Linked DNA regions of Homo sapiens: region 2 is linked to region 1. The links are contacts of gene promoters, found by promoter capture Hi-C in blood cells and fetal thymus (Javierre and others, 2016). All regions are on one chromosome and are shown on one strand. Each heading gives the region's core, a stretch centred on a gene start or on the middle of the fragment in contact. The rest is flanking DNA. Distances are from core to core; before and after follow the strand shown.

Region 1 (7,561 bases), core at 3,181-5,680:
GCCCTTGTTCCACTGCGTCTTCGCTGTGTGGCCTTGGGCAAGTGGCTTGTGTTCTCTGAACTCCAGTTTCCTCATCTGCGAAGCAGGAGCAGTCATAACACCTCCCATACAAGGTTTCTATGAGGGCTGAAGTACAAGAAAAGCCTTTAGAACTGTGTCTGGCATCAAACAAATGCTTAAGAGCCAAAAATACAAGCAGCTGGAACTGAGAGGGGATTCTGGAGACAAGCCAGGCCAGGCTTCCAGCCCGGGCAGCCTGCGGGCAGATGGCCTCCAGGTGGGTCTGCCTGCCTCTGGTGGGGTCAGCACCACCCAGCTGCAGGGCCACTGCGAGGCACAAGACGGCCCCAGAGGTAAACCCGGCTGCTCCTAGGATGGAGGCTGCCCTTTTTGATAGTGAGGGTGTTTGAGAGAGAGGGTGGATCGGCCCCTGAGTACCCTGGAACCCTTTTTGCCTCAGTGAAGCCAGCTCAGAGGGTCATTCTGAGGGGTCCCTCCTGCTGGTCGGCTCAGCTCCTCTTGGTGCTGGAGTCTTTGGGGAGGAAGGAAGTGATTTTCGCAGCCGCAGCGGGGAGCAGAGGGATCTCCTTCCCACGGCACTTCTGCTTCCTGTGCAGAAAGGAACCATGAAGAGCTCAGGACCTCACTGTGTCCCGGCTGGAGGCCTCTCAGCTGCCACTTGCTGGCTGGGGCATTTGAAAATCCTGGATTGAGGCCGGGTGCGGTGGCTCACGCCTGTAGTCCCAGCACTTCGGGAGGCCAAGGCGGGCAGATCACCTGAGGTCAGGAGTTCGAGACCAGCCTGGCCAACATGGTAAAACCCTATCTCTACTAAAAATACAAAAATTAGCCAGGTGTGGTGGCAGGCGCCTGTAATCCCAACTACTCGGAAGGCTGAGGCGGGAGAATCACTTGAACCCGCAAGGCAGAGATTTCAGTGAGCTGAGATCATGCCACTGCACTCCAGCCTAGTGGAGTCTTTTTTGAGCCTGTCTCAAAAAAAAAAAAAAAAAAAAAGAAGAAGAAAAGGAAATCTTGGAGGTGGTCGTGGGTAGGGGATCTGTTTTTCTCCCTGGACAGGGAGCGCCTTGAGGGCAAAACCATGACTTATGTTTTGTCTGCCCAATGCCTGGCACGCAGTAGGCACATAATAAGTGTTTGTGGAACTAAACTGAAAACAGAGACCAGCTGGGCAAAGTGGCTCACACCTATAATCGCAGCACTTTGGGAGGCTGAGGTGGGCGGATCACCTGAGGTTGGGAGTTCGAGACCAGCCTGACCAACATGAAGAAATGCCATCTCTACTAAAAATACAAAATTAGCCGGGCGTGGTGGCACATGCCTGTAATCCCAGCTACTCGGGAGGCTGAGGCAGGAGAATCACTTGAACCCGGGAGGCAGAGTTTACGGTGAGCCGAGATCGCGCCATTGCACTCCAGCCTGGGCAACAAGAGAAAAATTCTGTCTCAAAAAAAAAAAAAAAAGAAAGAAAAGAAAAAGAAAACAGAGGCCAGTAATTGTGGTCTCATTTGGAAAGCCTTAGTCTTGGTGTCGAGGAGGCCCCTGGGGACTGCAGGGGACACCTGGGCTCCCCCATTTCCCCACCCAGCTTCCACCTCCTTCAGGGCTGCCACTCAGAAATTACTTTAACCTCCCTGTTCCTCAGTTTCCTCATCTGTACAATGGAGGTGATTAGAGTGCCTGCCCCATAGGGCTGCAGTGAGGATTAAACTGGCAAGGAGAGCAGGTCCCCTGGAGCAGTGTCAGGCGCTTGGAAGCTTCCCGGAACTGCTCTATTATTGCTTCACTCTGCTGAGGTTGCCGTGCCCCTAGGCTTCCCAGGGAGGCTAGGCTCTTTCACTTCTACAGCCTCCGTGAGGCCAGGGCCCAGGGCAGGGCAGGTGTTCAGTATACTGTGAGGCATAGATGCACGGATAAACGGGGAATGGACGGAGGTCTGGGCAAAAGCCAGTGGCTGAGACGTGTGGTCCCCAGGGACCTCACCTGCAAATTCAGCTGCCAAGGCCTAGCTCGAAGGCTGTGCCACTGAAGCTGCCCCTGGGACACCCACAGAGCCTCCTCATTCCTCTGCTCCGCCTTCAGCCTTTGGGGCCTTTACTGTTTATTCACAGCTCTGGCTGAGGGCACAGGAGAGGAAGCACATGAGAGGTGCTAGAAAGTTTTGGTAGAAATGAGGCTCCTGGATGCGCTGCGGTTTTATTTCTATCCCCCTGGCTCCCGAGGAGGATCAGGGCCAGACACGAGGCCCCGACAGCGCAGCCAGGGCTGCTGGGCTCCTTGCCAAGGTGCGTCCCTGCCTCTCCCCAGGAGGCTGCGTGGCTGCAGAGCGTCTCAGAAACTGGGCAATGAGCTGGGACCCTCAGCTGCTTCTTGTCCAGTCATGTCTGCGCTCCACAGCCCAGGGCCTGCCTGGGGAGTATGCACGCCTCCTCCCACCCTGCCTCCCAGAGGCTACCCCTTCCCTTGAGGCCTCTTGTGCACCAGCGTGGTGTTGGGCACCTGCCTTCATATCAAGCCTGGAGGAAGGCTTCTCCCTGCCTTATGCTCACCCATCCGTCCATTCCTGCACCCCCTGGGCCAGGCTCAAGAAGGAGAGGGGAGGAAGACAGGCAGCTCAGGCAGGCAAGCGTGGAAACCAGGTGTGCAGCAGGCTAGACCCAGACTCAGAGGCGGCAGAACTCCCGGGAGTCCGAGGTACAGAGTTGGGGTGTGGGGGGCACCGTGACAGGCTGAGAGGTAGGGTCAGTGAGCTGGCACAGGGGCAGGAGCGGAGGCGGCACCAGGGCTGGAAGAGCAGGCTCCCTTGTTCCGAGGCAGTTTGGCATTCAGCTGCCTCCCAGTGCCAAGTCGTAATGAGACTTGTAGAGGCACAGACCGATGCTTTTCCAATGCTCCCCGTGTACCCTGAGGCATTGACACGAGGTCTATCACCATGGCATCAAGGTGCTTAGACAACCTGCTACTCCCAGGAGCCAGGAATAGCGTGAAGCAGCGGGTCTGCATCTCACTGTGACATATGTGAGCATGTATCACTGTGATGGATCAACAGTCAATAACACTGGGGTCCCCGCCTGCCCCCTGCGCGGTAGGAAACTTCTCCTGTTCATATGTCTTCCTCCCCTGGTGGGCGGCCCCTGCTCTTGCCAGCCTCCCAGTGCTCGTGGCATTGGTGGAAACGTCTTTAGGCTTTCACTGTTCATGTTTGGAGCAGCCCAGGGAAAAGCATGTGTGCAAAGAACTGAAATGGATCTCATGATGCCGTCACCGGGGGCTGCAGCTGGACACACCTGAGCAGGCAGTAGCAGGGTGGGAGAAGGCTCGGACATCATACCACTGGCAGTTCAAATGCCCGCCCCACAGACCTGCCCTGATCCTAGGCATGTTGTTTTGCCTCCTGGGGCCGAGGTCTTCTCTTTTGTACAACTGGGATCATCACATTTATCTGGTGAGTGAAGGGACACCTGCAGAGAAGGGAGGTAAGCGCTCAGCATGCGCTGAAACTCAGCCACCTTCCCGCCTGCGTCTTCCATGTACCAGGTGCCTCCAGCTCCACCAGCCATCACCACACCCCAGCCCCTTTCCTCTGCCACTCCAGACACGCAGGCAGATGTGTGGGTGCCAAGGGTGAGGGGCTCCCAGTCTGCTGGGGAAGGGGGTCCCGGCAGCAAACAATTCCTGTCCCCGGCTGATGCTGCTAGAAGTGAGAGCAGGGGCTGTGACCTGCAGCCAATGGGGAAGCAGTTCGAGGGTCTCACAGTTGGGAGGCCGAGTGAGCTAAGCTTTAGGGCAGCCACAGGGAGGAGCTGACGTTAGAGATGGACCAGAGAGGAGGCGTCTCCTGGGCCTCTGCAGGGGACCCACAGAGGTTCTCGCTGGGTGAATGATGGGCAGCCTGCCTTTCACCTGCCCTGGGTGTTTGGCCCTCTCTAGGGCTGGGAACATGAGGCTCCTGCCCTTCACCCCAGCCTCCCTACCACCCCTCACCAAAAAACCTACCTTTGGTAAACACATTATTAAGGGATTCTCAGAATATTTTAGAGAAGTTTGTGTGAACATGCTTGTGGTCGTTTTAAAAGTGTTTCAGAAGTGAGAGGCTAAACCAAGGCCCGAAGTCACTCATGGAAATCCCATGATCCCTCTGCACAGTTACCAGTGTCTCCTGGACGGGGCCCCTGCTGGAAAGGGGCCGAGACAGGGTGAAGCCCACCAGGGGTTGGAGTGGGGAGGCTTGGGTCCCGTCTCCAGCTCTTCTTCTGGTTGTGTGGCCTGGACCAGTCTCAGTGCCAGGTTCCTCATCTGGCGGCCACCCTGCTGGGCTGTTCCAGCTTTGCTTCTGAGCGGAAGGTCAGGGGCTGCCAGGGAGGAGCTTCGTGGGGAAAGCAAAGGGGAAGCTGTCAGCGCCGGCCGTCCCCTCCTGTGAACTAAAGAGTCGCCGCAGACAAGCAGGCCCCCAGATGGAGAACCAGCCTGTGAGGTGGCGGGCCCTGCCAGGCCTCCCACGCCCTCCTGGGCTCCCCGCAGCCCCCTGGCTCCTCCTTGGCGTGCTGCTGCTGCCCGGGACCCTGCGACTGGCAGGTAGTGTCTGTCTTCCTCCTTCTCTCTACTCTCTCGCTCCAGAACATCAGAGCGGCTTTCATCCCGCCCGGCGCAGCTAATTCCCAGGGACCTGTCTCTGGGGATTTGCTGGTTGTCGTTTGAACGCTGCAGACTTCACAGGGGAAGCCTTCTGGGACCGAGAAGATGTTTAGCTAATGCCTTGCCAAGGTGGCTTTTGAAGGGGAGGGGGACAGCGCTCTCTCCCTCGCTGCTGTGACAGCTTTGCCCCAGCAGTCTGGCCTCCTGGCCCTTAAACAAGGAGGGTGGGCGCTGTGTGGCTGGGGCCAGGGGCGGGGCAGGGGGGAGGGACAGCTCCCCATCCGAGGAACCTCACGTGGCTGCTGCGGGGGACACTGCGTTGAACCTGGCAAGTGGTGGGGCTACCCTCTGGGTTGTTGCTGGCATTGGCCAGGGAGAGCGGGGAGAGGGGGGAGGGGGGGATACCAGGGCCAGCCACAGGGCTCTGCGCCCAGAGGCACAAAACTGTCAGTCACCAGAAAGGGTCTCACCTCCCAGTTCCTGAAACACAACCAGAGGCCAAGTGTTTTAGGATGCAAGTGTGTCTTTCCACGCCAGCGGCGCTCCTTTCCTGGTTCCAGGCTTTCTTGGAAGCTGGGTGGCCGGGATCCGAGCCAAGCTGTGGGGTAGGTAGCCTCAGGGCCAGTTCATCAGGCCAGGGACGGCCCAGGAGGGTCCCATTCCAGGGCTGCCAGCACGAGGGCTCAGTGAATTCTGCCAGATTCTCTCTGCCCCTCCTTGGCCGGGCAGCAGCCAACCCTCCCTCTGGCCAAAGGGGTGGCCTCCACTGTGGAGACAGGGTGCCTTCCTTTCTATTCTCTTAGTTTATGGGGCTTTCAAGAGCTGCCCCCACCCTGTCCTGCTGCACCCCCTCTCATGACCACAAATTAGGCTTTATGGAGCCCTTAGCAGGGCACGTACTGGCCACCCTCACAGCACCCCTTGGGGCTCCTATTGTCCTCACCTGCACCATTTTAAGGACAGGGAAAAGGAGGCCCAGGGAAGCCAGTTCGTTTGCTCAAGACCTAGCCGGTAAGTAGAGGCCAGCCTCAGCCCCAGGCCAGCCTCAGCCCCAAGCTGGGCCCCTCGGCCAGTAGGCTCAGAGGATCCTCTTACTTGTAAAGAATGTTCTTCACCGGAAACTTACCCTGGGGAGGCAAAGGCTGACCTGTGTGTACCTCCCCAGGCTGCAGCCCAGAGCCCTAGGACACCATCTCCTTTAATCCTGTGCACGCCTCGCCCCACACCCCAGACAGTTGGTGCAAACACGGCCAGACCCCGGAAATGCAGCCTGTTAGTGTCAATGTGTCTCAACTACAGTCATTTTTAATTTAATTTCCCCCCAATTCCCATCCTTTCCCTTTGTGTGGTTCCTCCTCCCCAAAAGACACCCAGCACACCCTGGTAACCGAGCAGTAAGAGGTTTTATGGGGTGCTACTGGGGAAAAGCTCTTTTGTAACAGTCTCAACTATAACAAAACATTCCCAGTGCCACCCCCTCCCACCCGGTATTGCAACAAACATTACATAAAAGAGAAACTGTTCTTTCACAAGAGGTGAAAACACCCTTACGGTGTCCTAGAGTCCCTTGGAGCAGCAGACAAACCCCCACCCATGATTTTTTTTTTTTTTTTTTTTTTTGAGAGTTTCACTCTTGTCACTCAGGCTGAAGTGCAATGGCGCCATCTTGGTTCACGGCAACCTCTGCCTCCTGGGTTCAAGTGATTCTCCTGCCTCAGCCTCACGAGTAGCTGGCACTACAGGTGCCCACCACCATGCCCAGCTAATTTTTGTATTTTTAGTAGAGACAGAGTTTTGCCATGTTGGCCAGGCTGGTCTTGAACTCCTGACCGCAGGTGATCTGCCCGCCTCAGCCTCCCAAAGTGCTGGGATTACAGGCGTGAGCCACTGTGCCCGTCCTGTTTTTATTTTTTTGAGACAGGGTCTCGCTCCGTCCACCAGGCTGGAGTGCAGTGGTGCAATCTCAGCTCACTACAACCTCTGCCTCCCTCACTCAAATGATCCTCCCACCTCAGCCTCCCGAATAACTGGAACCACAGCGTGTGCCACCACACCCAGCTATTTTTTAAATTTTTTCGTAGAGATAGAGACTCACAGTGTTGCCCAGGCTGGTCTCGAACTCCTGACCTCAGGTGATCCACCCGCCTTGGCCTCCCAAAGTGCTGGGATTACAGGCGTGAGCCACTGTGCCCAACCCCCAACCCGCTCTTTGTCCTACCCCTGTGCATCCCCCTTCATCTATCTGTCACTCCATGTCACACCCCTGCCTTCTCGTCTCAGAGCTTTGAGGGTTTGCTGGAAGGAATCTTGCCCCTCCCACATCTTCCAAACCTCCCCTGACCGTAACCATCAGCCTTAACCATCAGCCTGGTGCAACCAGCTCTGCCACCTGTCAGTACCAACCCAGCTTGCATCCCTCAGCTGTGTCCACAGGGGTGTCACTGAAGGCCAGCGTCCCTGATTCTGCATCGTATCCCTGAACTTGCGAGAGGATGCTGGCTTAGGAGTACAGGCCAGGGGCATTCATCTTCAGTTTGATTTTTTATTTATTTATTTATTTTGAGACGGAGTCTCGCTCTGTTGCCCAGGCTGGAGTGCAGTGGCACCATCTCGGCTTACTGCAACCTCCGCCTCCCAGGTTCAAGCGATTCTCCTGCCTCAGCCTCCTGAGTAGCTGGGATTGCAGGCACCCACCACCATGCCTGGCTAATTTCTGTATTTTTAGTAGAGTCAGGTTTTCACCGTGTTGGCCAGGCTGGTCTCGAACTCCTGACCTCAGGTGATCCCCCCACCTTGGCCTCCCAAAGTGCTGGGATTACAGGCGTGAGCCACCGCACCCGGCCCAGTTTGAATTTGAGCTCTGCTACTTGCCCAGGCACCCTGGGCAGATTACTTCTATCGCTAT
Region 2 (7,561 bases), core at 1,828-4,327, 410 kb after region 1:
AGGGGACAATGGGGAATAACTTCTTAGTGGCTATTAGGTGATAAAAAGTTTTGAAACCAGACCAGATGCTGTGGCTTACACCTGTAATCCCAGCACTTTGGGAAGCCAAGGCAATAGACTTGCTTGAGCCCAGGAGTGTGAGACCAGCCTAAGCAACACAGTGAGACCCTGTATCTACAAAATTTTTTTAAAAAAAAAGGCTGGCAGGGGCTGGGTGTGGTGGCTCAAGCCTGTAATCCCAGCACTTTGGGAGGCTGAGGCGGGCGGATCACAAGGTCAGGAGATCGAGACCATCCTGGCTAACACAGTGAAATCCCGTCTCTACTAAAAATACAAAAAAAAAATTAGCCGGGCGTGGTGGCGGGCGCCGGTAGTCCCAGCTACTCAGGAGGCTGAGGCAGGAGAATGGCGTGAACCCGGGAGGTGGAGCTTGCATCGCGCCACTGCACTCCAGCCTGGGCGACAGAGCAAGACTCCCTCTCAAAAAAACAAAAACAAAAACAAAAAAGGCTGCCAGAGATGGCTCATGCCTATAATCCCAGCACCTCGGGAGGGCAAGGCGGGCAGATGGCTGGAGGCCAGGAGTTCAGAACCAGCCTGGACAACATAGGGAGATTTCTGTCTCTACAAAAACACATAAAAATTAGCCGGGCATGGTGGATTGCGCCTGTGGTCCTAGCCTACTCTGGTTGGGGGGTACTGAGGTAAGAGGATCGCTTGAGCCCAGGGGGTCGAGGCTGCAGGGGGCCATGATAGTGCCACTGCACTACAGCCTGGGTGACAAAGTGAGACTCTGTCTCCAAAAAAAAAAAACACCACTTTTTGAAACTAGAGACAGCTGGTGGATGTATAATATTGTGAATACGTCAAATACTGCTAAATTTTACACTAAATACCACTGAATTGTACACATTAAAATGTTAATTATATGTTATGTGAATTTCACCAACTGAAAAAATGTTAAACCCTAGCAACAATTACTTTAGATTCTGAATATTAGACTGTAATAACCTTTAAAAACCAAGGTACCTATTAAGGTTACAAATAAGTAGCCTTTAAGTTACATACAAAACTAAAGGCCCATGGACATGCATATCAAGTTCCAAGGAGAACTCAAGAAAAGTCCCATATTTTTGTGTGTGTTGGCAGCATTAGGAGACCCTTGGTGGCCCACCAGTAGGCAGTGGACCATGTTTGAGAATTACTTTCCAGAAACCCCATTCAGTAGCAGTGGACTTTAACAACACAAACTGTTAAAGGACCCAGGGCTCGAGTCCTCAGTAAGGTTGAAGGGTGTGGCACAGGTATGATGACTATGCTATGTGAAATGGAAACAAGGAAGTGGGCAAGAGCATATATTTTCTGCTCAGGCTATAAACAGGAAGTGACCCTTCCCACTAACAGGATTGCCAAGTATGTTCCAGGTTTGTATATATCATTAAAAGTAAGCCTGAAACCAAAGCCCAGTCACTTGCTGACTTTGCCACTGGGTTTCAGTCTGGAAACAAAGTCACAGATGTGACCATTTTCCAAGCCCCTAAAGCTCTGCTGCTGCTCCTGCAGGGAGCAAGCCTGCAAGGGATAGATCTTTGAGCCTCTGGCATAATTTTCCACCTTCCAGGAAGAACCTCTCTGCCATACCTTACCTGAACAAGGCATCTGTGGAGTGCACATATTCCCTTCCCCAGTAATTACATAAATTCCCATAGAGCTGAACCAGTCATTTAAGGTTCTAAGTGGAAATCCTCGGGCAGCTGGAAAGACAAATTTGGCAAAATAGGAACTCTTTTAATTAAGTCAGATATATAGCAGATATCAACTAAACAATTAACAGAGTATTTAATCACCACCTTACATGTGTTTCCAACAATGCTCTTGAGACACAAGATAAAAAAGAAACATGGGCTGGGTGAAGTGGCTCACACCTGTAATCCCAACATTTTAGGAGGCCAAGATGGGAGGATTGCTTGACCCCAGGAGTTCAAGACCAGCCTGGGCAACATGGCAAGACCCTATCTCTACAAAAAATTTTTTAAAAATTAGCCAGGCATGGTGGTGCATGCCTGTGGTCCTAGCTACTCAGGAAGCTGAGGCAGGAGGATTGCTTGAGCCTGGAAATTTGAGGCTGCAGTGAGCCTTATCTGTGCCACTGCACTGGAGCCTCCAGCCTGGGTGACAGAGTAAGACCTTGTCTCAAAAAAAAAAAAAAAAAAGAAAGAAAGAAAAGAAATATGACCCTTGTCCTGAATGGCACGTGTCTTAAGGGCAGAGATTGTATCTCATTTGCCTGTGCTTATTCCAGGCCTAGCATAGCACCTAATCATAACAGATATTCAGAAAAAACTTCTAAGTGAGGATTCTACCAAGTTGGTAAGATATATCCATTAAAGACCAATGTGAGGAAGTGTGGTACCGAAGAAAACACTTTTGTCTTGTCTCCCCTCTGCATCTCTCTTATAAGAACACTTGTGATGGCATTTAGAGGCCACCTAAATAATCTAGGGTAATCTTGTCATCTCAAGATCCTTAAATTAATTACGTCTACAAACACCCTTTTTACAAATAACGTAACAGTCACAGATTCTGAGGATTGGGATGGGGATATATCTGGGGATCCATTATCAGCCTACCACACTGAGTTTTGCCTATGGCATGTGACCAGATGTAATGTAGACAGTTTCCAGGCCTGGCCCATAAAAATTTCCCAGGGGAGATCTTTATTTCCTTCTCTGCTGGCTGTACAAAGAGGCCATGGAAGCCATGGGTTAAAGATCGCAAGGACCGGCCAGGCGTGCTGGCTCACGCCTGTGATCCCAGCACTTTGGGAGGCTGAGGCAGGTGGATCTCCTGAGGTCAGGAGTTCGAGACCAGCCTGACCAACATGGTGAAACCCCGTCTCTACTAAAAATACAAAAATTAGCTGGGCTTGGTGGTGGACACTTGTAATCCCAGCTACTTGGGAGGCTGAGGGAGGAGAATCACTTGAACCCGGGAGGTGGAGGTTGCAGTGAGCCAAGATTGCATGATTGCACTCCAGCCTGGGTGACAAAGCAAGACACTGTCTCAAAAAAAAAAAAAAAAAAAAAAAAAAAAATATATATATATATATATATATATATATATATATATATATACACACACACACACACATATATGAGATAAAAAAATTATTTGTAGTCACAGTTTGAAAGAGTTCTGTGGTACATCCATTAGATCAGTGCTATAAGTCTTGACAGTACCTCTACTCCCCTCTCATGTAAGATGGGGACTAAACCTGAGAAAAGCAAAGGCAAGTCCAGAGAGAAGAAAAACTAAAAAGCCACACCAAAGAAAGAATAACTAAGGGCTCCCTGACCCAAGGAAGAGACGCTCAGTAGATATCTGAGGTCAGTGTTTAAATGGACAAAAGACTATCAGGTATAATTAGTCACCTGGGTGTCTGGCTGTAAGCTCCCACTAGATTGCAAGCTCCTTCAGGATAGGAAGGGACTGAATAATCTTTGTGTTCCTACCCTGTAACATGGTACTTGACAATTGTAGGTAGGCCCAGGAAATGCCTGCTGAATATGTGTGCGAATACCAACTGCCTGGCCACAAAGGCCAGCAAATCTTGGCTGAGTAGAAGTCCTGCTTTAATTCCACAAGCCTTAAAACCCCAAAGTGGGCTGGGCATGGTGGCTCATACCTGTAACCCCAGCACTTCGGGAGGCTGAGGCAAGAGGATCATTTGAGTTCAGGAGTTCGAGACCAGCCTGGGCAACATGGTGAAACCCCGACTTACAAAAATACAAAAATCCCTGTCTCAAAAACAACAAAACAACAACAACAGCAACAACAACAACAAAAAACCCAAACAAACAAACAAAAAACCCCAAAGTGCTTAATATCTTTATCAGCATCACTTACCAGCAGAGGCAGCTTTCACCATCAACTGGGCAAATTCAATGGCATCTCCATTTCTGAAGACTAATTTAAAAGTAGCTTGTCCTTCCCAGCCACCTGGGGGAAGAAATGGCACACACTCACCAAGAAACTGGCATAGCTGACAACAGAAAGACTGCCACAAACACCAAGGGAAGCACTACCTGACAAAGTAGGGCAGCTTTTGTTTGAATTTCAACATGAGCCAAGTTTGAATCTTAAACCTTTTAGAAGATTTTGAGGGAAAAAAAAATACACACTTCTGAGGGAACACTTACCATATGGAGCTGCCTGAATAGTTCCCTTAATGAAGTTTGCAGCAAATACTGGTTGTTCAACAGTGAGGTTCGTCATCAGATCAAATGGCATCATAAAAGACAACATGGGATCACTGATGGAGCATGAAGTTATGAAAATCACCTACGCAAGGACAGAAACTTTGGAAAAGGAATGCAGAATTTGTCCATGGATTGAGACTTACAAGAGCAAGGTGCATTCTGGTCTAACTGAGAAACATCATCTTTTCTTCCACCACCCTTCAGTGTGGAAAATCCCAAAGCGCACGTTTAAAAACACTTCAAAAGTCAATGTTTAAGTTTTCTTCATTTCAAGGAAAACAAATGTAGAGTTAATCAGCAGATTAAAGTAGAAGTAGAAATTACCCGGTATGAAGTGAGAAACAATGTTCCTGTCTTTCTACCACTAAAGACATTTGAGCCTTCTGATCGCTGTGGGAAGGAGAGCTCCACATTCGGAGACCGCTTCAAGAGACTGTAGAAAATGAGGAACAGACGGCACACAATAAAGAATGTATGTAAAATGACACACATAAAGTTCTTAACGCAATTTTTTTTTTTTTTTGAGACAGAGTCTTACTCTGTTGCCCAGGCGGGAGTGCAGTGGCACGATTTCACCTCACTGCAAGCTCCGCCTCCCGGGTTCACACCATTCTCCTGCCTCAGCCTCCCAAATAGCTGGGACTACAGGCGCCCGCCACCATGCCTGCCTAATTTTTTTGTATTTTTGTAGAGATGGGGGTTTCACTGTTAGCCAGGATGGTCTCGATCTCCTGACCTTGTGATCCGCCCGCCTCAGCCTCCCAAAGTGCTGGGATTACAGGCATGCCACCGTGCCCGGCCCTTAATGTAGTTTTTTTTTTTTTTTTTCCAGAGTAAGCACTCAATAAACATTAGCTGCTGCTACTGCTACTATTACTACTACTACTATTTTATTGAAATAAAAAGGAATTCAAATGATCTTATTCTCTGACAATTTACTCTTATTCTTCTCCCTCTTCATCATTGGATTCTTTTTCTTGTCAAACCTACTCCTATTCTCAATGTGTGTTCATTAATTCTTATACTTCTTGTGCGGTAAGTGTAAAGCACTGTGCTAATAGAAATGGTTCTTTGACGCTGGTAAAGAAAGTAAGGCAGCAGACTGCCCCAGCCCCCTCTGACATGTTCCCTCAGCCTGTCGTGCTCTCTCCTTACTGTTAACCTGGAAAACTTGGACTCACCTTACTGTCACTCATCAAATCCTGCTGGGTTCTTTTTTTTCTTACTTTATCTTTCTTTCTTTTCTTTCTTTCTCTTTTTCTTATTTCTTCTTTCTCTTTCTCCCTCCCTCCTTCCCTCACTTCTTTCTTTCCTTTCCTTTTGACTTTCCTTCCCTTCTTCCCTTCCCTTCTTTCCTTCCATTTCCTTCTTCCCTTCCCTTCCTTTCTTTTCTCTCTCTCTCTTTCTTCTGTCTTTTTTTTTTTTTTTTTTGAGACAGGGTCTCACTCTGTTGCCCAGGCTGGAGTGCAGTGGCATAATCTCTGCTCACCAACCTCCACCTCCTGGGCTCAGGTGATCCTCCCATTCAGCCTCCTGAGTAGCTGGGACCGTAGGCAAGCACCACCACGCCTGGCTAATTTTTTTTTTTTTTTTTTGAGAGAAGTCTTGCTCTTGTCCCCCAGGTTTGAGTGCAATGGCTCGATCTCGGCTCACTGCAACCTCCGCCTCCCGGGTTCAAACGATTCTCCTGCCTCTGCCTCCCAAATAGCTGGGATTAAGTCGCCTGCCACCATGCCAGGCTAATTTTTGTATTTTTTGGTAGAGACGGGGTTTCACCATGTTGGCCAGGCTGGTCTGGAACTCCTGACCTCAGGTGATCCGCCCGCCTCGACCTCCCAAAGTGCTGGGATTACAGGCGTGAGCCACTGCACCCGGCCAATTTTTTTGTATTTTTAGTAGAGATGAGGTTTCACCATGTTGCCCAGGATGGTCTCAAACTCCTGGGCTCAAGAGATCTGCCTGCTTTAGCCTCCCAATGTGCTAGGACTACAGGAATGCGCCACCATACCCAGTCCCCCAGCCTTTTCTTTCTTAATGATATATGTAACCAATGTATAATGATCATTAGGTACAATGTCTGCCTTCTTTGCTACTCTAGCCCTAGCAAACAGTGGGTGCTCTAAATAGTTATTAAAAGAATGAATGAAAGCATGAATACAGATCATAATGCAAACAATATATGACATACATAATATAAATGTATGTCATACATTTATTAGTAACAAACTGTCATAGCAATTTAGTGAAAGAAGAGATTCGTTTTAGTTGAAGTAATTAGGAATGACCTAATAGAAAGACTGCAATTTGAGCTGATTAAGAGATGGGTAGTATTCTGGCTGGGCACAGTGGCTCACGCCTGTAATCCCAGCACTTTGGGAGGCCGAGGCTGGCGGATCATTTGGGGAGTTAGAGACCAGCTTGACCAACATGGTGAAACCCCATCTCTACTAAAATACAAAAAGTATCCAGGCATGGTGGTACATGCCTGTAATCTCAGCTACTCGGAAGGCTGAGGTGGGAAGATTGCTTGAGCCATGGGGCACAGATTGCAGTGATCCACTGCACTCCACCCTGGGCAACAGAGTATGACCCTGTTTCAAAAAAAAGAGAGAGAGAGAGATGGGTAGCATTCAGTAGGTAGAGGTGAAGGTAGAGGACAATCCAGATGGGAAGCAAACAGCATTCATGGAGGTGCAGGAGCAGATATGGAAAGCAAACTGCATACTTGGGAGAAGCCTAGTGGTATGGCTTCATCAAAACACAGTGTGGAAGTGAGGTTAGGAGAAACAGTGAAACAAAGTTGGAAAGCTATGCTGGAACTACAGCTTAAAGACATCATTTGATAGGCAAGGAGAAACTGTGAGCTTCAGATTTCTCAACAGGAAAGTCACATAATCAAGAAGGTAGTGTATCAGAGGGATCAGTTTAAGAATTCCTAAAATAGTCCTGATGCAAGGTAAAAACTGGAACTAGGGTGGTAATGTGCAGATTAAAAGGGGAGGATTTTTAAAAGACTATGAAAATACAGGACATTAGCAAAAAACTGTGGAATGGGAATCTTTAAATGTCAGTCTAGCCATAAAAGCAATAAATAAAGCAAAAGAAAACCTGTCAGAATCAACTTTTTCAGAACTCTAGAATCTAATCAAAAGCTTATGGTAACTAGGGGAATGCTTAAGTAATTTTTTTAAAAAGCCAAATCTCAGTAAGTAAGCTTTATGACATTTTAACCTACCCTGGTATCATCCCCCACTACTAGCTTGGCAGCAGCTTTGAAGACAACAATCTATATTCCCATGATA

What was found. The method cuts DNA at HindIII sites, captures the fragments that hold promoters and counts their contacts. A CHiCAGO score of 5 or more calls a contact.
Region 2: a fragment that was not itself captured here is called in contact with the fragment with the promoter of NFAM1 in region 1 in 7 of 17 cell types (activated CD4 T cells, non-activated CD4 T cells, total CD8 T cells and 4 more); the score reaches 10.4 in activated CD4 T cells.

The regions. Positions count from the first base shown.
Region 1 is chr22:42,429,272-42,436,832 of GRCh38, reverse strand. NFAM1 (NFAT activating protein with ITAM motif 1) reads left to right here and starts at 4,430. Exons shown (of 6, transcript NM_145912.8): 1 at 4,430-4,596. The coding sequence starts at 4,476. The HindIII fragment of the contact is 8,354 bases long and covers 3,803-7,561 here.
Region 2 is chr22:42,016,442-42,024,002 of GRCh38, reverse strand. It overlaps WBP2NL (WBP2 N-terminal like), which reads right to left. Exons shown (of 6, transcript NM_152613.3): 2 at 4,584-4,692; 3 at 4,200-4,341; 4 at 3,907-3,999; 5 at 1,647-1,754. Among named protein-coding and RNA genes, the nearest start is that of WBP2NL, 21 kb to the right of the region's middle. RefSeq lists enhancers at 5,877-7,442, 6,641-7,561. The HindIII fragment of the contact is 8,673 bases long and covers 1-7,413 here.